2 separate regions of the Homo sapiens genome follow, and region 1 is linked to region 2. The links are contacts of gene promoters, found by promoter capture Hi-C in human tissues and cell types (Jung and others, 2019). All regions are on one chromosome and are shown on one strand. Each heading gives the region's core, a stretch centred on a gene start or on the middle of the fragment in contact. The rest is flanking DNA. Distances are from core to core; before and after follow the strand shown.

Region 1 (6,773 bases), core at 2,777-5,276, 180 kb after region 2:
TAGTGATTTGTCTGCCAAAGTTCTATGCAGCATACTAGAACTTGGCTGAGCGTGCACGAAGCTCAACTAATTAAAACCTTCTCAACAAACTTGTCTTGGTTAGTTTGTTTGATACAATATCCTTTGTTGTAACATTCAGTCTGGTTGTTTTTCCATTTGCTTTAAATTTAGCATTGCCACATAAAAAAGAGACAGAGAAAATAGGACAGCTTGAAGAGGTGTAAAAATATAATTACTCTTTTGAAAGTATGCATATTTATCTATTTTTTGCTAACCCCCGTCTCACTTGTCTTTCCACTTGGCTAAATAGACGAATGTTCCTGGCTCATGGATATACAGCACTTATGGGTTACTTCTAATTGAGAACATCCCTTACTGCAATTTCTATGCCACTGATTTTAGTACATTTTAAAAATTTCTTTTGCATCAAAAAGGAAATCAAATGAAAGCATATCAGGCTTGAAAGACCACTGGTGGTACTGTAGAACTTCCACAAGCCAATCTGCAAAAACACTTCAAATCTCTGAAATTTTGTTCAACAGGAAGGAAGGAAGGGAGGGAGGAAGGGAGGGACGGAAGGAGGGAGGGAGGGAAGGAAGGAAGGGAGGGAGGGAGGGGGGGAGGGAAGGAAGGAAGGAAGAAAGGAGGGAGATTCATCAAGAAGTATTTTCCCAAACTACACCTAGTTGTGACAATATTTGGCTCAATTTTATAAATCTATTACAGCTGCATCTACAAAACAATATGCTAATAATTCACAACTCATATGTAAGAGCCATGCAGACCATGACTGTCTTCTTCACCAGTGTTTTCCCTGCCCACATGACAAGGCCTGAGAGGTGGGATGTGCTCACTAAAAATTTACTGAATGAATGAATGAGTGAATGAATGGGTAGATGCACTGTACTACAATGCAGAAAGAAAACTCTGCCAGTTCTGGTGGCTCACACCTGTAATCCCAGCACTTCGGGAGGCCAAGTTGGGAGGGTCTCCTGAAGTCAAGAGTTCGAGACCAGCCTGGGCAACATAGCAAGACCCCATCTCTAAAAAACAAAAAAGAAAAGAAAGAAAATTCAATTTAGTATTTCTGTGTCTCATCTTCTGTTTGCCCTGTTAAATATGAAACTGCAGGCAGGCAAGGCCCTCATTTGTCCTGTGCACAGTTGTATCCTAAGCGCCCAGCAGCAAGAGCTTACCATGTAGCAAGACCTCCAAAATTTTTGCTGAACTGTTGGCGTTTATGAATATGGATAGGCCCTTCTCTTGGAAAATTGTTGACCCAAGCCTGGCACGGTGGCTCACGCCTGTAATCCCAGCACTTTGGGAGGCCAAGGAGGGCAGATCACCTGAAGTTGGGAGTTCGAGACCAGCCTCACCAACCTGGAGAAACCCCATCTCTACTAAAAATACAAAATTAGCCAGGCGTGGCGGCTCGTATCTGTAATCCCAGCTACTCAGGATGCTGAGGCAGGAGAATCGCTTGAACCTGGGAGGCAGAGGTTGCGGTGAGTCGAGATTGTGCCATTGCACTCCAGCCTGGGCAACAAGAGTGAAACTCCATCTCAAAAAAAAAAAAAGAAAAGAAAAGAAAAGAAAATTGTTGACCCAGAAATCTGAACTTACAAAAGTAAATAAATTAGAAGACAATTCTGAATTTTACAAAGTATTTATTACGGGTTTCCTTTCATAAGCAGGCCTTGAAAACATGCCTTAACTTTAAAGTCTTCATGTAACTTTTATGAAGAACATGTGCCATAGGATGCAAGATACAGCTGACTGCCAGGACTGTGCAATCACAGAGCCATTTCCAGACGGTCAGAGTTAGAAGGCTGCGCCTCCCTGCCACTAGGTCAACCACTAGGCCACAAGCAAAAGACTCGGCTAAGGAGTGAAACAGGCAATGGCAATGTTATGGGCTGGATTTTGTCCCCTCAAATTCTTATGCTGAAGTCCTAACCCTCTAGTACCTCAGAATGTGACTAGAGATAAGGTCTTCAAAGAGGTAATTAAGTTAAAAAGAGTTCATTAGGATGGGCGCTAATCCAATCTGACAGGTGACCTCACAAGAAAAGGAGATTAGGGTACAGATACACACACAGGGAAGAATGCATGAAGTCCCTGGGATAAGGCAGCCATTTACAAGCCAAGGGAAAGGCCTCAGAAGAAACCAGTCTTGCCGACAGCATGATCTCTCATCCTCAGAACTGGGAGGAAATACATCTGTGTTGTTTCAGCCACTCAGTTGGTGATCTCTATTACAGCAGTCCTTAGCAAACCGATTTAGACAGGTAAGTGGAAATGTCTTCCTTTAGACTCCCTTCTACTGTTTTACAGACTAGAAGGATAATATAGAAGTGTCCAAGTTCCAGGCGAGACTATCAGAAGGCAAAAGCAAACGCTGCCTCCTGCTCTTTCCCCTCCGCCCCACCCACTCCGCCACCCTGTAATTGTCATCTCGGCTGGGTCTCTGTCTCCATTGTGCCCTGAATTAATTCTCCCTGGATGCGAGGTGGTGGTGATTCCACAGAGAGAGCTGCCTTACAGATCAGCATCACGTCAGTGTCCCAACAGAAAACAACACTGGAAAATTATTTGCCTTTCCTTTTAACAATCAACAAGAATTCACTTAGCTCCCACTGTGGTGAAGTCAGGGGACCGAACCTAGCAGGGAGATGGGTATAGTTTCTGACCCTTAGGAAGGAAACCCATCTCCCTTCTCATTGTCCAAATACACTCACGTCATTTGGACATTTTTCAGCAATTACTTTTGCAAACGTTGTAGAAAAATAAGTGACTTAGTAAGTCCTGAGCCTTCACTTAAGAAATTGGCCTGGGCCTTACTGAATAGGGGGTAGAAGAGGGAAATGGTCCATGTGTACTCTTTTATAGACAAAAAAAGTTACATTCTTTCACTGAAAAAAGGCCAACCATCATCAAAACAATTTAATACATTCTACCTCTTTAATAGAAGCTCAAATCAAATGTCTCACTCAGTCAAACTGAGTTAGGAGAGAAGCCATCTGCCGGCTCCCAGTTCAGCTCCAGCAGGACTGTTTTGAACACCATCGGCTGAGTCCTGTTCGTATCACTAAAAAATTATCTTAACTGCTCGCTGCAAAAAGTAATTTGCCCAGCATTGTCCATTCCTCGGAAGCAGAACTAATGTTTCCTGTGGCTGTGAATGGCTGTGAAACAGCATCACAAGATAAATGCCTACAGGCAGCTGGAGAAAGTGAGCTGCCATCAGAGAGGAGTCCTCTGACAGAAGTGGTGAGACCTAAGGGTCACATGCAAGGATAGCCACAGGCCACTCTGCAAATCAATAATCAAGACCCTGAAAGAGGGGCAGTTCTGGGAAGTTTGGGCTGCATAGGCAGGTGCATAAGGAGCCTCAGGAATGCTGCTGGATTCAGACTCTGGTCCCTGTGTCACCTCTCACCCTCATGTATAAGGCCCAGGAAAGTAGAATGTGGTGTGTGTGCATGTGTGTGGTGTATGCGAGTGGGCACTCCGTTTCTGAAGTGTCTCCTACCTTTCCCCCTTCCCTCCTCTCCCCTCCTCTCCTCTTCTCTCTCTCTCTCTCTCTCTCTCTCTCTCTCTCTCTCTCTCTCTCTCTCTCTTTCTCTCTCTGTCTGTCTGTCTCTGCACTCATTCCTAAGGCCCCTGATTTGGCAGTGGAGCTACTGACGGGTGGAGAGAGATCCTTTGTTAGCTGGGCAGTGACTCTGGGGTGCAGACAGCTGGGGAGAAGCTTGACAAGACAAAGAAACATCTCTGCCTGTCTCAGGCCTTCCCCACCACTGGATTCTCTCTCCCTGGGAGACTTTGCTCCTTCTCCAAGGCTGCCCTGGTGTGCCGCCTGTGTTTGCTGAGCCCCTCCACCCTGCTGAACACCCTGGGAGGCTGATGGGCATGCATTATACCAACAAGCTGTTCCGGATGAAGAATGGGGAGCATTGGCAGGATGGAGGGAGGAGGGTGAGGCGCAGGTGCTTACTCCCCGACTCCCTCCCTTCAGGGAGGCTGCATCCCCACCTGACAGTCTGTACTCAGGGCTGATGAGGTCAGTGGGGCCCCTCTCTTCCTAGTCTGCTCTGTGGCTGTGGGTGCTCTACCCGCTACCTGTGCATTCGGGAGGATCCCACGTGGCAGCCATGGAGGTGCACCTCTCAGATCTTCTTGCATGAAAGAACTTGCCATTCAGCTGCAAGGCTGCAGTGAATTGACTGCCTTCAACCTTCAAGATCAATTTTATGGTTGTTCTTGCTGCTGCTGCTGCTGCTGCTGCTTGCCACGCTCTTTCCGAACAGCCCCAGCTAATGACTGAATATGATGGGGATACAAGGGCCGGGGGTCCTGACCATTTCTGTGTGACAACAGAGACTCCTCTAACTGGCTGTCTTTGCTCCTGCTCCTGACTGGGTTGGTTAAGACTCAGTCAGATCAGACTCATGCTCTGAGCTTCCCTGGCCCAGTCCTGCTTTGACCCTTCTTTTTTATTACAGGTGATTTGCATCAAGACTGAAGGTTTTCCCTGTTCATTCCTACTTCCTGCTTCTTTTATCTTCCATAGACATAACCCCTAATAAATCCTAACTTCTAACTAACTCCACACTCCTAACTGCATCCCAGCATCTACTTCCCAGAGAATCCAGCTAGCACATGGTTTGATTAAACTCTACTCAAATCACCCAATTCGATGGTACCGTCTTTCCCATCAGGCCCCTGACTGATGCACCTTGACATTCATTTAGTGAAATTCCACATGGGTTAACATATTGACTTGGGGAGAAGACTCTCCTGAACCCTCCCAGGCTGCCCTGTTATGTTTGTGGACAAAGAAGAATGGAACTCCTGGACCATAGTTCCTGTGGGTTCCTGGCTTCCCTACCAGCCTTCCTCATCACCCACATCCAGACTCCCAGCCAGTTCCTCCAGGCTTGTAATGGGATCCTGAGATAACAGGCAATGCTGGAGAAAGGGGGAGAGGCTGCTGGACTGTGGGAAATGAGCAGTGACAGTAATGAGAACCACATGTCTCAACAGAAGCTTAGAAAAGCACATTTAATCCTAATCAATCAGAAGAAAATGTCCAAAGTCACCGAAGCAGTGAGGCAAAAATAGTATTGAGAAGGTTCAAAGTCTACTCAGAACCCCTGGAATCCAAACTTGTCACTCACTGGGAACTGGGCTTACTGGCCTTCCCAGGCCTGATGTGTGCTCTGAAGAGGAGAAGATTAAGAAGCGTGCTCTCTGCAGGCAGGATGGCTGTGAATTGCTTGGCTTAGGACATGGGATGTCTAATGCACTTTTGGGAAATATCTAGGTTGGTAATTCCCAAATCTATTTTTACAAAACCTTGAGAATTTTATAATTCTCACCAAGATGAGATGGGTGCCACAAAATCCTAAAAACTAAACTGACTTAGTTATAAAAACTGAGTATGTCATAGAGAGTAGGAAGACAGAGCCTGCGTTTTTGAGGGCTCTTCTAATTTCAAAAATGCTGGCCTGTTAACAAAAAATGTACTTATTATCAAATAGTATATCTTCTTTGAGGTTCAGAAAATTGGGTCCTATTGTCCATGCAGCATTTTTAGGATAGGTAAAAAGATGGGGGAAGGAGAAGTATGACTGAACTTGAAGTTCTCAAACTTCAAAAATGCTAAGATTCATTCCATTCATATCAGTTCTTTGTTCTTTCATGTAACACATGAAACTTAATGATCTTCACTTAATGTCCCCCACCCCCAAATCCTTAGAGTTGTCATGATTTGTTGATTTGAGGGGGGAACATAGGGAAATGCCAAGTGGGGCAGAAACAGCTCCAGTCCTCAGACAGCAAGGCGAACCCTAATTACCAGGCACCTTGGCCCAGGCAGCTTTCAGACTCTGAGCCCCTTCACCTGGGAGCTTGTTTCTCACCTTCAGATGGAGCTGAACTGTAACCGTAACTGTATTTGAGTCAGGATCCACATTTGTGACAAGGACTCATTCCTACCTTATGCAAATTTGTCCCTGAACAGCAGCAAAAACTTAGGAAATCTGCAGGCTGCACTGATCTTCCCCCCCCCCGCCCCCACTCCCCTCCCATGGAACCTGGGCCTGACACGGCAGGAGGCTCTGTCAGGGGCTGAAACGTTGGTGCAAGCCATTCCCTCCATACTTCTGCTCTCTGCAGTCTTTAGCCACCTCCCCAAAGGCAACGCTCCACTCCCTACTCGCCCTCGCCTCTCTGCTCGCCTCAGTGTTCTTTTGTAATTTATTTCCTCTGACTCTTTCCTTCACTGAATAGAGCTCCCCTGTCCATTTTCATTGGTTTCTAAACTCCCATTGGAAACAAACACTTTATTTCAGCCTTCCAGGATAGAAGCTGCTCCACTCCATCACCCCACAATCATTAGGGCCAGTGAGGGGAGATAAATACTCTCCTACTGGCCATTTCTCATTGGTATTTCCAATCCAGCACGTCTCCACTCTCAGGCGAGAACCTCTGCCCTTTGGCCCTCCTCCCCTGACGTGTACACGTTCACATACATGCCATTTTCTTCTTGTTCCTCTCACCCTTAGCCTCCAAAACATTCCCCCTTAGACACTATGCATCTTTCCATCTGACTTATATACATTCTGTCTACCTCAACCTCCAGGAGATAGTTATGTCTGTATGAACAATTTATCTCTACCAGTTAGAATTGGTTTGACTGTACATGAAATACCCAGCAAAGTGGCTTAAATAATACAAACCCTCTCATATAGTCGAATCAGGGCTAGAAT
Region 2 (6,945 bases), core at 155-2,654:
TATAATTTCAGCTCCGTCTGAAGCAACACAGTAACACTGACTCAGTGGCCTAGATTCCACAAGTGCCACATACCTTGCTTTAGCTTAAATCAGGCATTGTTTTGTCTGGCTGCTAGGACTGGCTCAGGTCTGCTAACAATAAGATGCTTATGCATGGCCCTTTCATGCAGTCAGTCTTTTAAATTTTTTTGCCTCTCTTGAAATCCTGGAAATGATTCCTAACAACGGTTAATCTAAAAATCAGCTGGTTTTGGTCAATATAATGGCGCCCCTTCGAACTCACATTCATGGAATATGGAAGCTGGAAGGAAGAGTAGAAACTAGTTCTGCTTCTCAGGTAAGGAAATCCGTGCCCAGAGAGTTGGGCTGGGTTCCAGCCAGTTAAAACTAGAACTCAGAGATGCTGTCCCGAGCCCTTTTACTTCTGCTGCCTGCCCGCAATTGCGGTCACACCTGCTTCAGACACTTCCAGCTCAATCCTCCCTCCATTTTCTGTGCAACTAGGGTCCTCTCTGGAGAGCTCTTAAGCCATCAGCTCTAGGAGAGAAGTGGGCAGACACAAATCTTTCACAGGTTAATTTTCCTTGGAACATTCTGGGTGATTTTTTTGTAAAGCCCGATTCTCAATGGTGTTGATTTCAGGGTAGTGTTCCTCACTGAGAGCTAAGGAGGCGTTGCAGAAGTGCGCTGATTAGCTAGAATTGACCATAAACAGAGTGGCGCGGCGGATGGGCAAAGGGTGGGCAGCGAACTGGCCCAAATCATCTGTGCATCACCTCACAAGCACCAACTGAGCACTTACTGTGTGCCTGGGTAATCCACAGCTGCCTAATTAAGAACGAGCAGCTGCCTTCCAACCCTCCCCTGGCCCGAGGAGCCCTACTAACTGGCAGATTGAGGGACTTCTGATTCTCATCGTGGGTCTGGCCTTAACTAGGGTCGCGACTCCAAGCAAGTATTTAAAATTCTCCAACCCAGGTGGCCTGAGGCTTGAGAAGAAATAAAAGGCTTCTCAAAGGGATGACAGTTTCGGGAAGTTTTTTTTTGGGGGGGGGACTGGAAAAATACCATAAAAGGCATTTTGGGGGTCACACACACACAAGAGCAGAAGCGCTGTGAGCCGCCCTGCAGGCTCCCTGCCCCGGGAGCCACCTTCCACCCGCCCCCGGGCGGAGGCGGCCAACTCCCGCCCAGCGGGCTCCCCAGTTCGGCCCCGAAAAGCCGAAAGGGGGGCGCCTTTGTCTATAAGCGCCGCACGGGCGCTCCTGATTGGCTGTAGCTAAGCAGGGCTTTCTTCCGCGCTCCTTCGGAGCGCTCCCTCCAGCGTCGCCGGCCCCGTTCCATTTTCACAGCTCCTCCTCCCCGGCCGCGCGCCCCTCCCGCCCCGCGCGCGCCTCCTCTTTCTCGCGGCCGAGTTCAGCCCGGGCAGCCATATGGGGGATACGCCAGCAACAGACGCCGGCCGCCAAGATCTGCATCCCTAGGCCACGCTAAGACCCTGGGGAAGAGCGCAGGAGCCCGGGAGAAGGGCTGGAAGGAGGGGACTGGACGTGCGGAGAATTCCCCCCTAAAAGGCAGAAGCCCCCGCCCCCACCCTCGAGCTCCGCTCGGGCAGAGCGCCTGCCTGCCTGCCGCTGCTGCGGGCGCCCACCTCGCCCAGCCATGCCAGGCCCGGCCACCGACGCGGGGAAGATCCCTTTCTGCGACGCCAAGGAAGAAATCCGTGCCGGGCTCGAAAGCTCTGAGGGCGGCGGCGGCCCGGAGAGGCCAGGCGCGCGCGGGCAGCGGCAGAACATCGTCTGGAGGAATGTCGTCCTGATGAGCTTGCTCCACTTGGGGGCCGTGTACTCCCTGGTGCTCATCCCCAAAGCCAAGCCACTCACTCTGCTCTGGGGTAAGTCCCGCCGGCGCCCCCTGCGCCCCGGCCTCCGTGGCCAGGCCGCGCTGGGGCGCGCGAGGTCGCCGCTCGCCCCTCGGCTGCGGGCGGTGCGCAGCGACCCCCGGTCTCCCCTCGCCTCCCGCTGCGCGCCGCGGCCCCCTTGGCATCCAGTTTTCCGTCCCTTGGGACGGGCAGGTGTTTCTGTCCCAGTATTTCAACTTCCGCCCCCCCCCCGCCCCCACCCCGCCGCGGTCTGCCTGAGGAAGCGCATTTGCCGGCTTCCCGATGGAGAGCCGGGGGGGACCCGGAGTCCTGCGGTGCCACCGCTGTGCGCAGAGGCGCGCGAAGGGAGAGGCTCGGCACAGGCTGAATCGGCTCCCAGCGAGGGAGGACGGGCGGGCGATTGTGTCACCTCTGCGGTCCCTGGGGCTCTCCTATCCCCCCCATCACCTCCGCGGGTCACGGACCTTGGGGACAGAGATGAGGACAAGTAAGGGAGTTGGACCGGGGAGGAGAGACCCGGCACAGGATAGAGTCTTGGTTTACGCGCACCAGATGGAAGATACCGGTTCCCCTCTTGCCTCTCCAAGGCCCCTGTCCCTGCCCCCTCCGCAATCTTCTATGCCCATTTGCAGTTCTCGGTGAAGTTTCTCGGTGAGCAAACCGATCCCATGGCGAGAGCGGTCTGACCCTAGCACGAAGCTCCGACTGTGGCTGTGCAGAGCCTTCTCCAAACCCTGTTCCCATGTGGCCAGTGGGAACCTGTGGCTCTCCTGGTACCCTCCTTCCGTGCACCCCCACTCCTGCCAGTAGGGAAGGGAGCCCGGGCGCCGACCACCATTCCCCTTCCCCTGGGCCCCAGGGACTGCGTGCCCACCCTACACGACCCCAGTCGTTGATCTTTGAACCACTTCGCAGCCGCCCTGGCCGCAATAACTGGTTTTGGCCTCCTTTACTGAAGCGGCAGTAGCCAGGACAAAAGGCACAGGCATTGATATGCTGAGTGAGAATTTGACGAGGTAATCCAAGATGCCCTTCCAGCTCCCGTTTCCCTGATCTCTAGGGGCGGGCAGGAGAAACACAACCTACTTTTATTTCCAGAGGGGAAGAGGAAGGAAGAAAATAAGACCTCTTTCTACAGGGCTTTTTTGGCATGGTGCCAGCTGCAAATGCCTAGGTAGATAATGGGGCCACTATGGTTCCAAGCCTTCCCTTGAAATCCTGCAGTCCCTGCTCTTGGAAGTAAACCCATCCAGAAGTGGGTACCTCTTAGGGGGTGTGGCTCAGGGAGGGCATAGCAGAGTTGACGGATGGTGAGAGAGGTAGGATCTTTGGGGATCCCTAAAGCCTTTAAAGTCTCCCCAAAGCTCTGGGAAATCTCCTGCTTCATCTTTCCTTCTCTCAGTGCACCTCCTCATTTCTGTGTCCTTTTCACCATCACCTTTATGTGTTGGTTTAATTCTCCAACTGACTGTAGACTGTATGATGTTCAGCTGTTGCTTCATCAACACACTCCGACACTGCCAACCAAAGCCCTTATTGCCCAGAGTTCTCCAACAAGCTCCTCTCTCCCCCCTGCTTCCAGAGGCAGGGCTGGGCTTGGTCCTCAGAGCCTGGTGACCTCTAGGGGATTGAGGCTTATCTTTAATAGCTGTGGTGTTCAGAGAGTGCTCAGGGAAAAGTGAGCACTTAAAATATTATCTTACATGCCTAGGGCTCACTGGCTCCACTTCTTACAGCCTCTGAGCCCCAAGACCCTGGCACTGGACCAGGAGCCACAAGGACAAGGCCCCTCTCTCCAAGTTTGCCAGGTCACCTCTGCCCTTTCCGGACCGCTCTCTGTGGTGAAGATAGAACCTTTGTTCTGAAAGATCTTGGCTTAGAGGACACCTCCCAGGCCCCAGTGTCCTCTAGCTTCCTTAGAGAAGTTAACACACTGAAGGAATCTGGTTTCCCCTTTGTGACTCATGTCCCAAACCCCATTCCATACCTTCCTGGATAAATTCTGCCTGTGCTTCATCTGCTATTTCCTAAGTCTTTTTTTTTTTTTTGAGACAGAGTCTCGCTCTGTCGCCCAGGCTGGAGTGCAGTGGTGCGATCTCGGCTCACCGCAAGCTCCGCCTCCTGGGTTCACACCATTCTCCTGCTTCAGCCTCCCAAGTAGTTGGGATTACAGGTGCCCGCCACCACGCCCGGCTAATTTTTTGTATTTTTAGTAGAGATGGGGTTTCACCGTGTTAGCCAGGATGGTCTCAATCTCCTGACCTCGTGATCCACCCACCTCAGCCTCCTAAACTGCTGGAATTACAGGCGTGAGCCACTGCGCCCGGCCCGTAAGTCTTAATTCTCTCCCCACCTTCATTGCCTCCCTAAAAAAAAAAATAGCAGACAATGGTAGATATTAGAGTTTTAAGGTCCAAAATTGTGACTTAGAAACAGTCCAAACAATGGGTCTTATCTGATGAATAGCTACTGCCTCTGCTGCTTTTTTTTTTTTTTTTTTTTTTTTTTGTGAGACAGGGTCTTGCTGGAGTGCAGTGGCACGATCATAGCTCACTGCAGTCTCAGTCTCCTGGGCTCAAGCAATGCTCCCACCGCAGCCTCCCAAGTAGCTGGGACTACAGGTGTGCACCACCACACCTGGCTATTTTCTTTTTCATTTTTTTGTAGAGATGGGGGTCTCACCATGTTGCCCAGGCCGGTCTTGAATTCCTGGGCTCAAGCAGTCCTCCCAAAGTACTGGGATTACAGGCGTGAGCCACTGTACCCAGTCTCATGAATAGCTTTTGAGGGAAGAAATGAGGGACAATCAGAGACCAGCTAAGATCAGCTGTGCTGATGGCTAGGCTACATAGTAAGCAGAGGGACGAGGCAGACCACTGACTCAGGGTTATTTTCAGTGAAAGCCCTGGTGCCTTGATCCACAAATTTCCCCCCACTGAAGGCCCTTTTTCACCACCTCCCTACTGGTTATGTGTAGCATTAGGGCCAAGTTCATGCCCCAGTGGGCTGCTCATGCACTTCAAGGACCTGACTTGTAGAGGAAATAGGCTTAGCCTGTCCATTGCTTGCCACCCTCCACACCAGATGAGGTTGTGCTGGAAACAAGAGGCATCTATGCAGTGCACCCAGCAGGGGATGTGTTGGATGTGCAGTGTGCAGAGAGTAATTTGTGTGGTGGTAAAATGTCATCCGTGAAAGAGCCATCAAATTGTTAGTTCATCAAGTTGTTAGTTCTCCTTGGGGCCAGAGCATGTTGTTTTCCCTTTTTATCCTTTTCGTTTTATGAGTGGGCAGGCTGTCAGGACAGAATGCTCTTGGTGCCCCCAGGTCCTCAGCAATGCGTTCATGACTTTCAAGGACAGAAAGCGGCCGGGCATGGTGGCTCACGCCTATAATCCCAGCAGTTTGGGAGGCCGAGGCGGGCTGATCACAAGGTCAGGAGATCGAGACCATCCTCGCTAACACGGTGAAACCCCATCTCTACTAAAAAAAATACAAAAATTAGCCGGGCGTGGTGGTGGGCACCTGTAGTCCCAGCTACTCGGGAGGCTGAGGCAGGAGAATGGCGTGAACCTGGGAGGTGGAGCTTGCAGGGAGCCGAGATTGCGCCACTGCACTCCAGCCTAGGCGACAGAGTGAGACTCCGTCTCAAAAAAAAAAAAAAAAATGGACAGAATGCAAACTCCAACTAGAGGAAAAACCTGCATCTGAAGGCTTGAGCTCACAAAAATGCCTGCTTGAGAGTTTCTGGCCAAAGGGACAGTTAGTCAATGCCCTGAATCCCAAGATGGGTAGAGCAGGGAGTGAGGCCTTGCAGTTACTGTGTGGACGTGTGAGTCCTGGGGCTGCTTCCCAGCGGAGCCTCCCCTGATGGCCTCCAGACATCTGGCTGTTGGCTCCCAGAAACATCAAGGCCTTTTCTGTTTTTTCCCTAAATGTCATCCGAGTCCCCTAAATGTGTCCCATAGTGACATCATGACTCTTTTCCTCATGAGATAACTTCAGTGACAGCACCAGGCATGCAAAGCAGTAATTTTCCCTGTTTCCTTTGATAGATCAGCCATCCTTCTATCCTGTCTTGGCGCAAACGTGACCATTGTTAAGGCAGATATAGCGTTCTCTGGTGCCCTGCTGGGTTCTTGGAGCATCTGTACCATCCTGAGTGGGATTCAGCATATGGCAAGGAAACTGAGAAGTGGTGGAGATTAACAAGGCAGTGTGGGGTGATGGGATGGTCAGTAGAAGCTGGGGCTTGGAAGGCACTGGTCCACCAGTCACATTCTGAAATTTGCCCAAAGATGAGCTGTCTTCCGTTGGGCATCGGGTAGTCTGTACCTGGTCCTGATGTCTTCATTGGGTTGTGCTTCTTTTCCATCAAGTCCCTCAGGTTGTTGAGGACCCCCAAGAATGCATGGTCATGGACTTCTGTCTTGCCCCAAGGTTTTCTAGAGTAAGCAAGGCTCAGTAGACAGGCAGATCTGAATGTGAATCCCTGCTCTTCTACTTACTTACCAGCTGAATGGCCTTGGACAAATTTACATCTCTGAAGCAGTTTTCTCACCTTTAAAATGGATATATTAATACTGTTTGTTCCTAAAGTTGTGAGAATCAAATTAGATGATATGTGTAAATCACTGAGCACAGTGCCTGGCTCTTGGTTGGTGTTAATTATTCACTGTCATTATTATTGGTCCTAATACTGGCCCCTTTTCTTTAGCAGAAGAAAAAAAAGTCTTCCGGCAGCGCAATAAATTCCACAAAGATGGCACAGAACTTGGCTTCACAGCCTCTCTTGCATAGAAAAGATAGATTTGGCTTTGGAAATAAGGGCTCTTTCTCAACGTTCCAAAGAGAGATGAACACAAATCCCTTCTGTGCTTCCTCCCTCCTTCATGCCCTTCTCTTTCATTCCATCTTCCTCCTGTTTTCCTCCAAAAGATCATTGTTTTGTAGCTGGGATCTTTTTGTTCAGCTGACAACTCAGCTGGTCTTGAGCGTTTTCTTTGGGATTTTTGAGCACAGCCAGTTACAATTGCTACAGAAACAGGGCCACATCATTTCTT

The links. The method cuts DNA at HindIII sites, captures the fragments that hold promoters and counts their contacts. A contact is called where the count stands out against the background at its distance.
Region 1: a contact is called between a fragment that was not itself captured here and the fragment with the promoter of SCD5 in region 2, in 2 of the 25 tissues and cell types used here (dorsolateral prefrontal cortex and spleen).

What each region holds. Positions count from the first base shown.
Region 1 is chr4:82,616,727-82,623,499 of GRCh38, reverse strand. LINC00575 (long intergenic non-protein coding RNA 575) reads left to right here and starts at 2,063. Exons shown (of 4, transcript NR_024088.1): 1 at 2,063-2,288. The HindIII fragment of the contact is 5,001 bases long and covers 1,526-6,526 here.
Region 2 is chr4:82,793,255-82,800,199 of GRCh38, reverse strand. It overlaps SCD5 (stearoyl-CoA desaturase 5), which reads left to right and starts at 1,404. Exons shown (of 5, transcript NM_001037582.3): 1 at 1,404-1,894. The coding sequence starts at 1,663. RefSeq lists enhancers at 246-962, 963-1,680, 2,657-3,178 and silencers at 1,049-1,468, 1,799-1,848. The HindIII fragment of the contact is 23,697 bases long and covers 1-6,945 here.